Linked DNA regions of Homo sapiens: regions 2 and 3 are each linked to region 1. The links are contacts of gene promoters, found by promoter capture Hi-C in human tissues and cell types (Jung and others, 2019). All regions are on one chromosome and are shown on one strand. Each heading gives the region's core, a stretch centred on a gene start or on the middle of the fragment in contact. The rest is flanking DNA. Distances are from core to core; before and after follow the strand shown.

The links. The method cuts DNA at HindIII sites, captures the fragments that hold promoters and counts their contacts. A contact is called where the count stands out against the background at its distance.
Region 2: a contact is called between a fragment that was not itself captured here and the fragment with the promoter of SNX10 in region 1, in 1 of the 25 tissues and cell types used here (mesendoderm cells).
Region 3: a contact is called between a fragment that was not itself captured here and the fragment with the promoter of SNX10 in region 1, in 2 of the 25 tissues and cell types used here (H1 embryonic stem cells and mesendoderm cells).

Annotation. Positions count from the first base shown.
Region 1 is chr7:26,290,535-26,294,752 of GRCh38, reverse strand. It overlaps SNX10 (sorting nexin 10), which reads right to left and starts at 2,891. Exons shown (of 7, transcript NM_013322.3): 1 at 2,667-2,891. RefSeq lists an enhancer at 857-906 and silencers at 2,398-2,477, 2,628-2,867. The HindIII fragment of the contact is 12,028 bases long and covers 1-4,218 here.
Region 2 is chr7:25,929,299-25,933,798 of GRCh38, reverse strand. No RefSeq gene overlaps it. Among named protein-coding and RNA genes, the nearest start is that of MIR148A, 18 kb to the left of the region's middle. The HindIII fragment of the contact is 6,244 bases long and covers 1-4,500 here.
Region 3 is chr7:25,910,857-25,914,798 of GRCh38, reverse strand. No RefSeq gene overlaps it. Among named protein-coding and RNA genes, the nearest start is that of MIR148A, 37 kb to the left of the region's middle. The HindIII fragment of the contact is 6,078 bases long and covers 1-3,942 here.

The sequences.
Region 1 (4,218 bases), core at 1,642-4,141:
CTTGTAACAGGGCCTACCACACAGTAAGCCCTAGATAACTATTAGCTTATAACAGAAATCTGACACACATTTGTTGGGTAGTTAAAACTGTAAGCTGAGTTTAGAGAAATCATAAATACTCTGATGGCTTAGTTTCCCCAGAGGTAAACTGAAGACAGTAACAGAATCTGCTTCATAAGTCTGTTGTGATGCTTAATGAGACTGCCACATAAAAACTCTTTCACAATGCCTGGCCCATAATTAAGTGCTCGATAATGTCACGATGCCTGGAATATAGTAAGCACTCGATAAATGTCAGCTGTTGTATTAACAGTTCTGGGAAGCAAAGATTACCATCACCCTTTTTTATTTCTGAATAACAGGCAACTCAGAGAGTGTTAAGTGCCCCGCCAACAAAACTATACTTAGAAAATTATTATACCAAGATTTCAACTCAGATGGGTCTGGAATCACAAGTTCTAACCACTACACTATATACCTTCCTCTTTGAACAGGGCTTAGAGAACAGAAGAGCTAATTCATACCTACCAGATTACTAAGAAAAAGATGTTTGGAGATAACAATGCTAAATTTGGGGGATTCCCCACAGAGTCAACCATGAGCTTGGCCAAAAGCCCTTCTCCGCCATGCTAGGAAATGAAAATCTGCATAGACTGGCCCCTGTTCTCAACCAGTTGTCTGCCTTTCACCAAGTGGTTGTGAAACCACAGCCCTGTCACTAAAAACGGAAAAAAGAAGTTATTTTCCCCAGTAACTTAACGAGCAAAATGAAGCCTTAAAATGAAAGTAGTGATCCTAGGGCTGAGAAAAGATATCCACTGCTCCAAAGCCCAGCAGAATTGCTGTAGAACACCAACGTTACTCTTTGATTAACATACTTTTATTTTTTTTAATGAACGTGCTTATTTCTATTACTTTAGGTTACCTAACTCAGGGGTCCTTCCCATTAGTAAAATAAGAGGAAGTGTGTACCAGCCTGGAGGGGAGACTCCCTGGTGGGGCACAGTGTCAGCCTGAGCAAGTCCCACTGTCAACACTGATGTCCTCCCCAGTTAAATGGTAATCAAAAGTGAGAATGAAATGGACTGGTAGAAGAAACAGGACGACCAGTTGAGTCCATGCTAATCACTGATATTTCACATCTTCACACAGTTTCTTCTAAATGTATTTTATTTTTGTATTTTTATTAAAAACTGCCCTATCAGTCAATCTCAAGTCTACCCTTCCTTTAAAAAATAGTAATAAAAGGCCGAGCGCAGTGGCTCACCCCTGTAATCCTAGCACTTTGGGAGGCCGAGGCAGGTGGATTGCTTGAGCTCAGGACTTCCAGACCTGCCTGGGGCAACATGGCAAAACCCTGTCTCTACAAAAAAAATACCGAAGTTAGCCAGGGGTGTGGTGGCCCGCACCTGTGGTCTCAGCTACTAGGGAGGCTGAGGTGGGAGGATCACTGAAGCCTGGGAGGTGGAGTTTGCAGTGAGCCAAGATCGCACCACTGCAATCCAGCCTGGGTGACAGAATAATACCTTGTCTCAAAAGAAAAAGAAAAAAGTAAATAATATTAAGAATAATGAAGGTCCAGCTATGTACCTACCTTAGGAATAGGCATCACTGGAAGTGATGGCAGAGGCAAGGCAGGAGTCCCTGACCTCACCTCCATTCTCTCACTGAGGAGCCCCTGCAGAAGCTGGTCAACTATCCAAGCAGTCCCTGCTTCTTCCTGGCGAAGGCCTCAGCCTCCAGCCCAGCCCCCTCCTGGGAGAGGAGGGGGAGCTTATGCAATCCAAACCCAGTTCCCAGGCCCCAGAGGTGGACATAACTCCGGGGTGGAAGTCAGAAGCCTGCCAGGTTGTAGGCCTGGTTCTGCTCCCATCTGGCTGAATGATCCTGGTCCCAACACTCAGCGTCCCTCGGCCTTAGCCTCCCTGTCTGTAAAATGAAAGGTTTGATGGAGATCATGTGCAAGCCTCCTCCCCGTTCTAATTTTCTGATACCATCATTTTTAACGTGTCTTGTAGAGATAGAAGCCCTTCCTTTCAGCAGGACATGTTGCTCCCCATTCCGTGACGATCCCCCTCAATAATCCGTGTAATTTGAGAAAAGTATGATGCATCGGAACTGAAAAACAGGCTGTTGCTTTCCTGGTCACCAAATCTGATAATCAGTCAATTATATGGATTTTCCCCTGGGCCTTCTCCCTCAATCCCACAATCCCACGAATAAACCTGCCTACCCCTCCCAATTCCTCAACTCAAGGCTACCCGTTAATGAATGAATAAAAAAATAAATAAATAAATTTTAAAAACCACCTCCCCACCCCCTTCTACCCGGCCTGGTGTAAGGTGCCACAGCACTTCTTCCGTAATCTAGAATCCACCTCTGCCCCACCCTCTCCCCGGGGTGTCTTTTTAGCCAAGAATCCCTGGATCGACGCGCTCCATCTCCCCGCTCTACCGCGCTGATCATTTCTCCCTGCCCGGCACACCTCGGCTGAAAAGGAGGCGGCTCCTCTGCTCCAAGCCCAAGGGACCCAAACCTCTTTCCAGCCCGCAAGGGTGCGGGCACCTGGGAACAGCGGGAAGGGCCCGCGCCTCTGGAAAGAAGGGCCGCCGTCCCCACCTGGGCGGTGCAGGGGAGGCCCCCTCAGCGGGTCTCTTGTCACTTACGGGCGGCTCCTCCGGGCAGAACAGAGCAGGGCCGGGCCGAGCCGGGCTTGCGGGCCGCGGAGTTTGCTGACTCAAAGGCGCGCGGCGGCAGCGGCGGCGGCGAGCGCCCAGGAGCGCACACGAGCGCAGCCCCGCGCTCCCCGCGCTCCCCGCGCTCCCCGCGCACGTAGCGGCCCCGCGCCCGCGCTCAGCGCCAGCCGTCCGCCTGTGGGCGCCGCGCCTAGTGCTTCCGCCGCCTCCGCGCAGCCCAGCCCAGGTGCGCCCCCACCCTGCAGAGCTAGCCTCCTGCTTCCTGAAATTGAGTTAGGGAGGAAATGCCCCCATTAGTCCGGACGTTGAGGCTGGAGGTGCTCCAGCGGCACCCTTCGGAATTCGCCACCTGAGTCACCTTAAGCTTCCTAACCCTGACCCCACAGTTATGGGGAGGATTGCCGATGGGGAGGAGGACGGATAAATAACGTGATAAACAAGAATGGCAGAATGTTCATAGCATCTAGGTGGTGGGCTATGGTGTTTATATAAAATTATTTCAGTTTTTGTCTATGTTTGAAATGTCTCAATAAAACATTTGGGGGGAAAGCTAATGAGATCTGCCAAGGGACCTGACTGAGGAAAGCATTTCCCAAATGGCACCTGAGGCTGGGTCCCCACACCTGTTTGCATGGGAAACCACAATCATCACTTAAACTGCTAATAAGTGACTGAATGACACAGAATAATAAGCATAGCCTAATATTTCATTTTTCAAGCATGAATTTTCCCATTAGATACAGCTTGTCGCTGATCATCCTCCAGGGACCATTCCAGGCCCACCTGAAAACGCATCTGTTCACCACACCTACATTAACTCCCTAACAAAACGTATAAATATACAATGTTGTGTCTTAACATCTTGGATCTTGAAGTTGTATTGCTGAACCCTCAATCACTGGTATTTAATTTCCTAAAATTGCACCCAAGTCATGACACACAAGTGAATGCAACCATGATCACTTTTGAAAATCAAATTAAGCTGGTGTGGTGGCTCACGCTTGTAATCCCAGCACTCTGGGAGGCCGAGGCGGGTGGATTACAAGGTCAGGAGATGGAGACCATCCTGGCTGACATGGTGAAATGCCGTCTCTACTAAAAATACAAAAACTTAGCTGGGCGTGGTGGCGCGCGCCTGTAATCCCAGCTACTCGGGAGGCTGAGGCAGGAGAATAGCTTGAACCCGGGAGGCAGAGGTTGCAGTGAGCCGAGATCATGCCATTGCACTCCAGCCTGGGCGACAGAGCAAGATTCTGTCTCAAAAAAAAAAGAAAGAAAATCAAATTAAAGTGTATTTTTTATATTCTTGTCCCTATGCTCCGCAAAGAAAAACATTGAGTAGAAAACAAAATGCAGCATGTATCTAAGATCCTAAGAGATTCTGTAAAATTAAAATCTTTCTGAACTTATTGTCAAGAGCATGACTTTACAGCTGTAGACAAAGCAGCAACAAACCCTTGGAGAGTCTACTGAAAGTCATTTGAATATCTGTTAGAATTTTGACCCTATTAAGACTGGTAAC
Region 2 (4,500 bases), core at 1,179-3,678, 360 kb after region 1:
TGACCTTGGAGAATCTGATGATGATGTGTCTTAGGGATGACCTTCTTGTGAAGTATCTTACTGGGGTTCTCTGCATTTCCTGAATGTTGACCTCTGTAGCTAGGGTGGGAATTTCTCATGGATGATATCCTGAATTATGTTTTCCAACTTGGTTATACTCTCCCCATCTCTTTCAGGGACACCAATGGGTTGTAGATTTGGTTTCTTTACATAATCCCATATTTCTCAGAGATTTTCTTCATTCCTTTTCATTCTTTTTTTCTCTATTCTTGTCTGACTCTCTTATTTCAGAAAGCCAGTCTTCAAGCTCTGAGATTCTTTCCTCAGTCTGGTCTATTCTGCTATTAATACTTGCGATTCCATTATGAAGTTCTTATAGTGTGTTTTTCAGCTCTATCAGGTCAGTTATATTCTTTTGCATACTGGCTATTTTGTGTGTCAGCTGCTGTATCATTTTATTGTGATTCTTTACTTCCTTGGATTGGGTTTCAATGTACTCCTGAATCTCAATGATCTGTGTTCCTATCTTTATTCTGAATTCTATTTTTGTCACTTCAGCCATTTTGGCCTGGATCAGAACCCTTGCTTGAGTGGTAGTGTGGTCATTTGGAGGAAAGAGGCATTCTGGATTTTTGAGATGTCAGAGTTCTTGCACTGGTTCTTTCCTCATCTTTGTGGCCTGGTGTTCCTTCAGTCTTTGAAGTTGCTGTCCTTTGGATGGGTTTTAATTTTTTTGGCCATGCTCCACTACAGACACTCCCTCACCAAACCCTCTGGGCTCTACATCGACTGGTGTGCTTCCCCTACCACTTCTCTAAGAAGCTCTTCCTGCCAACTCAATTGTCTGTAGTGGTTGAGGGTTCTCCTCCTGTTGGGATTCTAGAGGCCCATGGTGGGAGTGAGTTGGTCCTTTCCTGTTCAACTCACTCATTCCCCTGGAGTCACTGGGGGCCAGGGATGAGTCAAGTGCACAGCAGCCCCCTGCAGGATTCCCAGCTCCCTTCTCTTCAGCCCAGCTTCTGTTCAATGTTTTCAATGACCAGAAATAACATCCTTTGCAACTATTTAGACTTATGAAAAATATTAAGTATCTACTTAAGTATGTGCTGGGGGCACATAGTTTTTCAAAGTTCTTACAGGGGAAAGGGAGTGGCTATGTAAACAAACAGTTGAAATCCAAACTACACGTTATGTTAGAAAGAAAGGCAATAGATGGAGTAACACAATAAATATATGACAATATTGCCTGGCTGTAATTGACATTCAGCAGAGTCATACTGACGCTTTTTCTGGAGGGATAGAAAAAAAAGTGTGAAGATCACTTATAAAATATTGACTAATCACTGCTTTTTAAATGATCAATATGTAAATATTAGTGTGGTAATGAAAATTTGCAGTTATTTTGGATTGTCAACACTAGAGGCCAGGAAGTCATGCTACCATAATTAAGATACAGTTATAGGTTTATGAACCACTCTGCAGCTGTAATCCTGAAATAATTCACACTCAGGCACTAGCATAGATAAACTGTGGCAGCTTCATCATAGGGAGTTTGTAGGAACACTGCTAAAGTTTGGTAGAACCTTGCTCTAGGAACAGGCTAGAGCACCACATATACCGCATCCTAAGTTGTGCAACATGGCAGCCCTGTTGTACTTCATGTCATATTTGTTGAACACTACTATATGCCAGCTGGGTTTGGGCAAAATTCTGAAAGACACAATCCCGAATGCCATCATCCTGAATGTTGGAATCTTGAAAAATCAAAATCCCAAAAATAGTTCTGGAAAAAATATTTTAAATCATTTAAAAGACATTTATTTACATTTTAAAAGGAGATTTATTTGAGAAGCGTAAAAACATGACAGAACACTTCATAGGCCACTTTCCACAATAAAACAGGCAATAATAACATACATATTTTTACAAGAGTAGACACTCAGCTATACCAATGGCAGGTATAACAGTTATGGGCAGACAAACCATATTCATAAAAAAATAGGTCAAAAAGCAAAATGTATTGACACATAACACTATGGTTGGTAATTGCATGCACTCATTTTTATAACTGTGGTCATCTAAAATACGGTGACAGACAACCTAAGTTTTGACAAGATTGAGCAAAAACCGTGATGGGTCACCAACACCCACATAGTCACCCAAAGAGCCAAGATCTCAAGAAATTTTATCTTTCACAAGTGCAGATGTACAAAAAAGACATCTTGTCATTTATTGAGGAAGTTTTTACATTTTTATGTACACACACAATGCTTCCACATAAAGTCAACGTTGTGATAATGCCCTTTCATGGTGTCAAATTTGCAAAAAATGCATAAAATGAACTAGAACTCTCTAAAAGTTTTCACCAATTTATACAAGTCCAGTGTTGGAAATGATGTGAAGATGAAATACATAGCTTATCAAATTAAAAAAAAATTATGCTGACAAGTTAAAATTGTGGAAAAAAATGAAAAAAAATCATGAAAAGTCAAAAAAAATTGACACATGAAAAGGTATATTACAGGGCTAGGTTATGGGCAATTGCAAAGAGGTAGTCCATAAAAGCTGGCCAACTTTCATGATCATTCACTATATTTTTGAAGTCTTGAGTCATAAATGAATAGCTGCTTCTTTTCTTGAAGGTCATGGCTCTCCTCAAAGAATATTTTCATCTTCATTTTCTATGCAACACTGCTCTTCAAATTCTATGATTTGATATACACTGACATGAGCATTCCCTATTACATTTTCTCATTTTCTGTACAATGCTTCTGTGTTGTTTTGGGTACATGGAAATCCATTCTGCACGCACTCGTATATAAACCACACATTTGGCAGAAACAATACTGGTGATCAAAGGCAACACTGTTGCATGTCTTCTTACCCTGCTTTGCACGTAATTATTTTCAAACCAGTTAAAAATTGCTGGCTTCTTCAGACAAATGAAGCTTTAATTTATTCAAAGCTCAGAATTTCATCGACTGGAAGTAATGCCATTGCAGGCAAATGACACATTTTTAAACTGAAGTTTTCCTTAACGCCTTATTGAATGGCCCATCCACTCATCTGAATTTTCTGCCAAATGCACATATAGACAATACCAAGATAATAGTTCCACCCAACATGATGCAACTAACATGATGCAACTATCCTGCATGTCACTAAAGATGCACTAATCCCTTCCCCAGAATTCTGCTTTTGGGATTTCAATATTTGGGATTTAAATTTTTCAAGATTGTGATTTTTGGGATATTAGATGTTAGGGATTTTGACTTTTTTAGATTTCAGTATTATGGACTGTGTTTTTTGGGATTATGACCAGACTGATGCTAAGCATTGTGTGAAAGGGTAGATATATACTATTAAATCAAAGGACATGGCCAGCCCTGGGCTGGGTCCAGTGTCAACCTCATGGGGAAAATCAGGTGAGCTTTGTGGGAGTCGGGGAGGGAGACAGGTAAGGAGAAACTTCCACATATGCTTGTGTGTGGCATAGAATATGCATGCAAAATATGGAAGCTGTTACTAATTGGTAAAGTAATGCTGCTGCTTACTAGTACTATTAGTATTAACTCTAACCCTAGTTACTGCTGCCAGTGTATCTGCCAATATACCCAGATCCTGTATATCTTATTCAAAGGCACATTGGAAAGTGCACCAATCAGGAGGCTCCCTTTTTAAATGCACCAGGTACTGTTTTAAGTACTTTATATACCTCGTCTCAGTGGTTCCTCAGAATAACCTAATATTAGCTTTGTTTTACAGATGAGGTAACTGGGGCACAGAGAAACTAAATAATTTGTTCAAGGACACACAGCTGGGAAATGATGGAGCCAAGATTCAATCCCAGCGAGTCTGGGTCCATAATAATACTGACTCTTTTCTTAATCACAATGGAATTAATCTTTAACGTTTATGGAGCACTTAATCGAGATCAGGCTTTGTGCTAGCCACTTCACATAAATTATCTAATTTAATTTTTACAATCAAGTAACTCTGGTGTAATTCTCCAATTTACAAGGAAATGGAGGCATAAAGCAGCCGAGTAACTCTTCAAGCATTACAAAGCTGGCAGATGGCAAAGCCAGGATGTGGAGCTAGGATCCCAATCTGGATCCCTCCCCCACGCCCAACCACCCCGGCAAAGACCATTTTGCAGAGTTCTGCAGCAGGCTTGGAAGGGGGCCCCACCTGATGGTGTTATCACAAGCAGGGACCCTTCCTTAGGGTCTCCTGGGCCACCTTTCATTCCATGGTTCACTTGCCGTCAGAAGCTGCCACAGCATCTCAATTCACCATTTAATTTACTTCAAACTGCCTCATGCTAAAAATCTCTAGTGTCACGGTCACTGAATGGATTAAAAAAGTGCCAAAGTTGCTTTAATGAGTGGGGTATGGGTTGCAGAATCTGCATAGAATCTGAATCTTAACAACAGACAGTGCAAACTTTCGTGGGTTGATGTCTTCACAACGGTACATTTTAGGATAGGGTCACCATCA
Region 3 (3,942 bases), core at 516-3,015, 380 kb after region 1:
GCTGCAGTACCATGCAGAAAACTGGAGTGTTAAAGCTTCAGACTTCTAGAAAGGTGGAAGCTCCTGATGGCGGTGGAAGTCCACAGATGGCGGGGAGGAGGGCGAATGGAAAGTGTTTGTGGAGCAGAGAGCACCATGAGCTCTGGACCTCAGAATGACCCAGAACAGGTCTTCTCCTTTGAAGAAACATCTCTCTCTAATCTAAATGGTCAGCTCTCTCTGGATACATACGCTTATTTTGGCCTGTGACAACATGAATTGTTAGACATATCCCTGCCGACCCTTTTTTGTTGTTACCTATGAATAACACTTTTCTATTGTACTAACATTCAATTGCCAGGGAACACCTTGGTATTCTCTATAAATGCAGGAGAGCTTCTGTTAGGGCATTCAAGGCAGTTTGGGGTTCCCATTATATGCAGGCTGTGTCCGACGGAAGGGATTTATTCTGCAGCTGAAATGTCTAAGAGTTATTATTTTTCCCACGGAGTATATTTATTTCTTTTTGACAGTGTTTGAGGTTATGGACTCTATTTCTAGCTGACAAAAGAAAACAGCATACAATAAAATCTGTGACATTAGACTGGGTAAAACCAAATGCACTCATTTGCTTTCAGACAAGGACACCCGTTTCAATAACTGAAAGAATTGAGAATGTTTAATGTTCTGAGAACATGCTGAGCTGAATTTAAGTGAAAGATGATCCCTGGTTCTTTCATTCATGCTTTAAAAATAAACTACGTAATTAAATGGCTACAGATACTTCTTTTGTGGGGAGGAAAACAGCAGTCAGATTCTTTGCAATCATGCCAACAGGGCAGTAGGTTTCCTAACCCTTTGGCAAAATTGAGAATCAATACCAATAAGAAAAAAAATAATAACAAAAGGGGAAATCTCACAGGAGTCACAGGCGATAAAAGATTTACAATGTGAATAAAACATTACAGGTCAGCATTAAAACAGATGATACGTCTCTCTGACAAGACAAAGCAGCCAGCCTCTAACCAGAGGTGCAAAACCGCATCCAGGGGCCAATGAGAAAGCCCCAGACCAGCCACTTCCCTTCCCCTCAAGGAAAGGAGCCTCCTTCTCGGGGAGACATTCACTCCACAAGCTGCATTCACAGTTTGACAGTTCACCTTGTTTGAAAGTAAAATTCTCTGGAAGTACAAATCTTGCCCATGCATAATTTCTAGGACTAGTATATTTGGAATTTGTGAACAAAGAGACCAGACTTGCTTTTGAAAAGGAAAAGATGCTTATCTGTTGGTTCATTTTGTAGGTGAATAAGACTTTTAAAAATACAACCTGGAGAAATTATGAAGTCAAAAAAGGTCCATAAAGACAGGCTGAATTCTGACTAAAAGGCAGTGGAAGCCATCGCCAACTGGAGGGGTTTTATGAACATGGTGGAGGGGAACTCTCGGAGGGTGATCATTATTCAGGGCTCATTAGTTCTTGCTGAGTGGACTCTCAATCATGGGAATTTCCATATTCCAAAGCCAAATTCTTGAAAAGAAAACTCAGAAAACGATATTTTGGTGTCCAGCCATTATCAAGGGAATACATTTGACAAATATAAATCAAATTTTATTATTTTCTGCCAAATCATGGAGAGTAGGTCTATATGCTCACCACTCGAAAGAATGCAGTTCACCTCCAATCAGAGACAGCATAACTGGATGCCCAGGCAGCCTGATCTCACATCCCTTAAAGTTGCCAGTGGACACACAGCCATGGCCAACAGTCTCAGTTTGGCAATATGTCTTGTCATGATAAATTAAATATCTGCTTCAGTAACTAGACTCTATACTGGAAACTTGCACACCGATTTTATAACACTTTACATTTAAAATTTAGAGCACTTTATCTTATTTATTATTATTATTATTATTATTTTGAGACAAGGTCTCACTCTGTCACCCAGGCTGGCGTGCAGTGGCATCATCACAGGTCGCTGTAGCCTAGACCTCCTGGGCTCAGGTGATTCTCTCACCTCAGCCTCCCAAGTAGCTGGGACCACAGTGCACACCACCATGCCCGGCTAATTTTTGTATTTTTTGTAGAGATGGGTTTTCACCATGTTGCCCAGGCTGGTCTTGAACTCCTAGGCTCAAGCCATCTCCCCGCCTCGGCCTCCCAAAGTGCTGGGATTATAAGCATGAGCCACCACGCCTGGCCTAGAGCCTTTTAAAAATGGTTCATAGAAGCAAATTTTTGTGTTTTTTTGTGTGTGTGTGTTAACATGAACTACAGAGTTTATCACAGACGATTAGTAACAATATCTAATTCCTGTTCCTGTTTCTCAACTGGCCATCTGGCTTTTCTTAATCTTTTGAAGTTCACTTACTATTGCTAACGATTAATGAGCACATACAAATGTACTAGACACTGGGCTAGGCCCTTTATTTACTTTGTTTTTTTTGCATTTCATCCTCATAGCATCCTTATGAGGTAGAAGCTGTCTACCTTAGTGATAAGAAAATCAGGGCTTGGAAAATTTGGCCAAGGCCACCCACTGCTACCACCAAAATCCAGCCAAGGCAGTTTGAAGCCAGTCAGAGCTCTTAACAGGCACTCCCTGTGGCCTCCCTCCGAGTGCAGGCAATGTAGACTTGTGGCAATTTCTCTCACCTTATTGCTCAGCTAATACCTCTACCCTGAAACTGCCAATATTTTTAGTCCTGATGAATTTCATCCAATTTTCTTCCTTTTCATTTTGCCTCACCCATTTATTTCCCGTTTCTAGAATTGTTTGTCTTGCATGATATGTAGTTATCTAGAAACGCTTGTTTTCTCAGTGTTAAATGAACTCATATCATTGTTTGACTTATAATCTGTGTTGTTCTAGCTTGCCTGGCTTTAGTAATACAGTTTTTACTTCAATTTACAGGCAACCTGCGGAGGAAATAGCTTGGCCTCTGTTATTTACATATTGATGTGTGAGATCCACAAATTATAATGGTGGCGTCTGATAATGCAGTGTCTGTACTGCCCTTTTCTTTATTCTTTTTGAAATGGTGACACAAACCTTTATCACCTGGTTTGGTCTTTTCCTGGAGCAACTTGCTATTTCTAGGAAGATCTAAAATGCAGGGTTTCTTCTTATTTTTTTTTTCTCTTTTTATGGCTCTTCTTCCTTTAGAATGAAGTATTGTACAACTGTTTTCCAATTGGGAACATTCTAATTAAGAAACAGAAAGAACTTAATGGTGTAAAATACATTTGTGTACGATGAAGTAAAAATATTACTTCTTTCTTTTTTTGTGAGACAGAGTCTGTCTCTGTCACCCAGGCTGGAGTGCAGTTGCATGATCTCGGCTCACTGTAACCTCTGCCTCCCGGGTTCAAGCCATGCTCCCACCTCAGCCTGTTGAGTAGCTGGGATTACAGGCACCTGCCATCATGCCTGGATAATTTTTGTATTTTTAGTAGAGATGCGGTTTCACTATGTTGGCCAGGCTGGTCTCGAACTCCTGACCTCAAGTGATCCACCTTCCTTGGCCTCCTAAGGTGCAGGGATTACAGGTGTGAGACACTGCACCTGGCCTCATCTTTATTATAGCATTATGATAATAGCAAAAAGTTGAGAATAATATAAATGTGCCCAAATAAGGAACTGGTTAAATAAATTATATGACATCCATATGTTGGAATATCATGCTACTCTAAAAGTTACATTGTAGAACAGTTTTTAAAGATATAAGAGAAATGTTTACGATAGATTAAGTGACAAAAACAATTAATAAAATAGTATGAGTTCCTTAATCCATGAATTATTTATATGTGTATTTTTTCATTTCCAAAAAATTAAAAATTTTTTTGCTCTCATTTGTACTGTTGGATTATAATTTTTATATTACTGTGAATGGATAACATAGTCTGTATGATAATCAGTTCTTTGGAACTGGTTAAAATTTCCTTCTGATTTGGGAAAGGTTC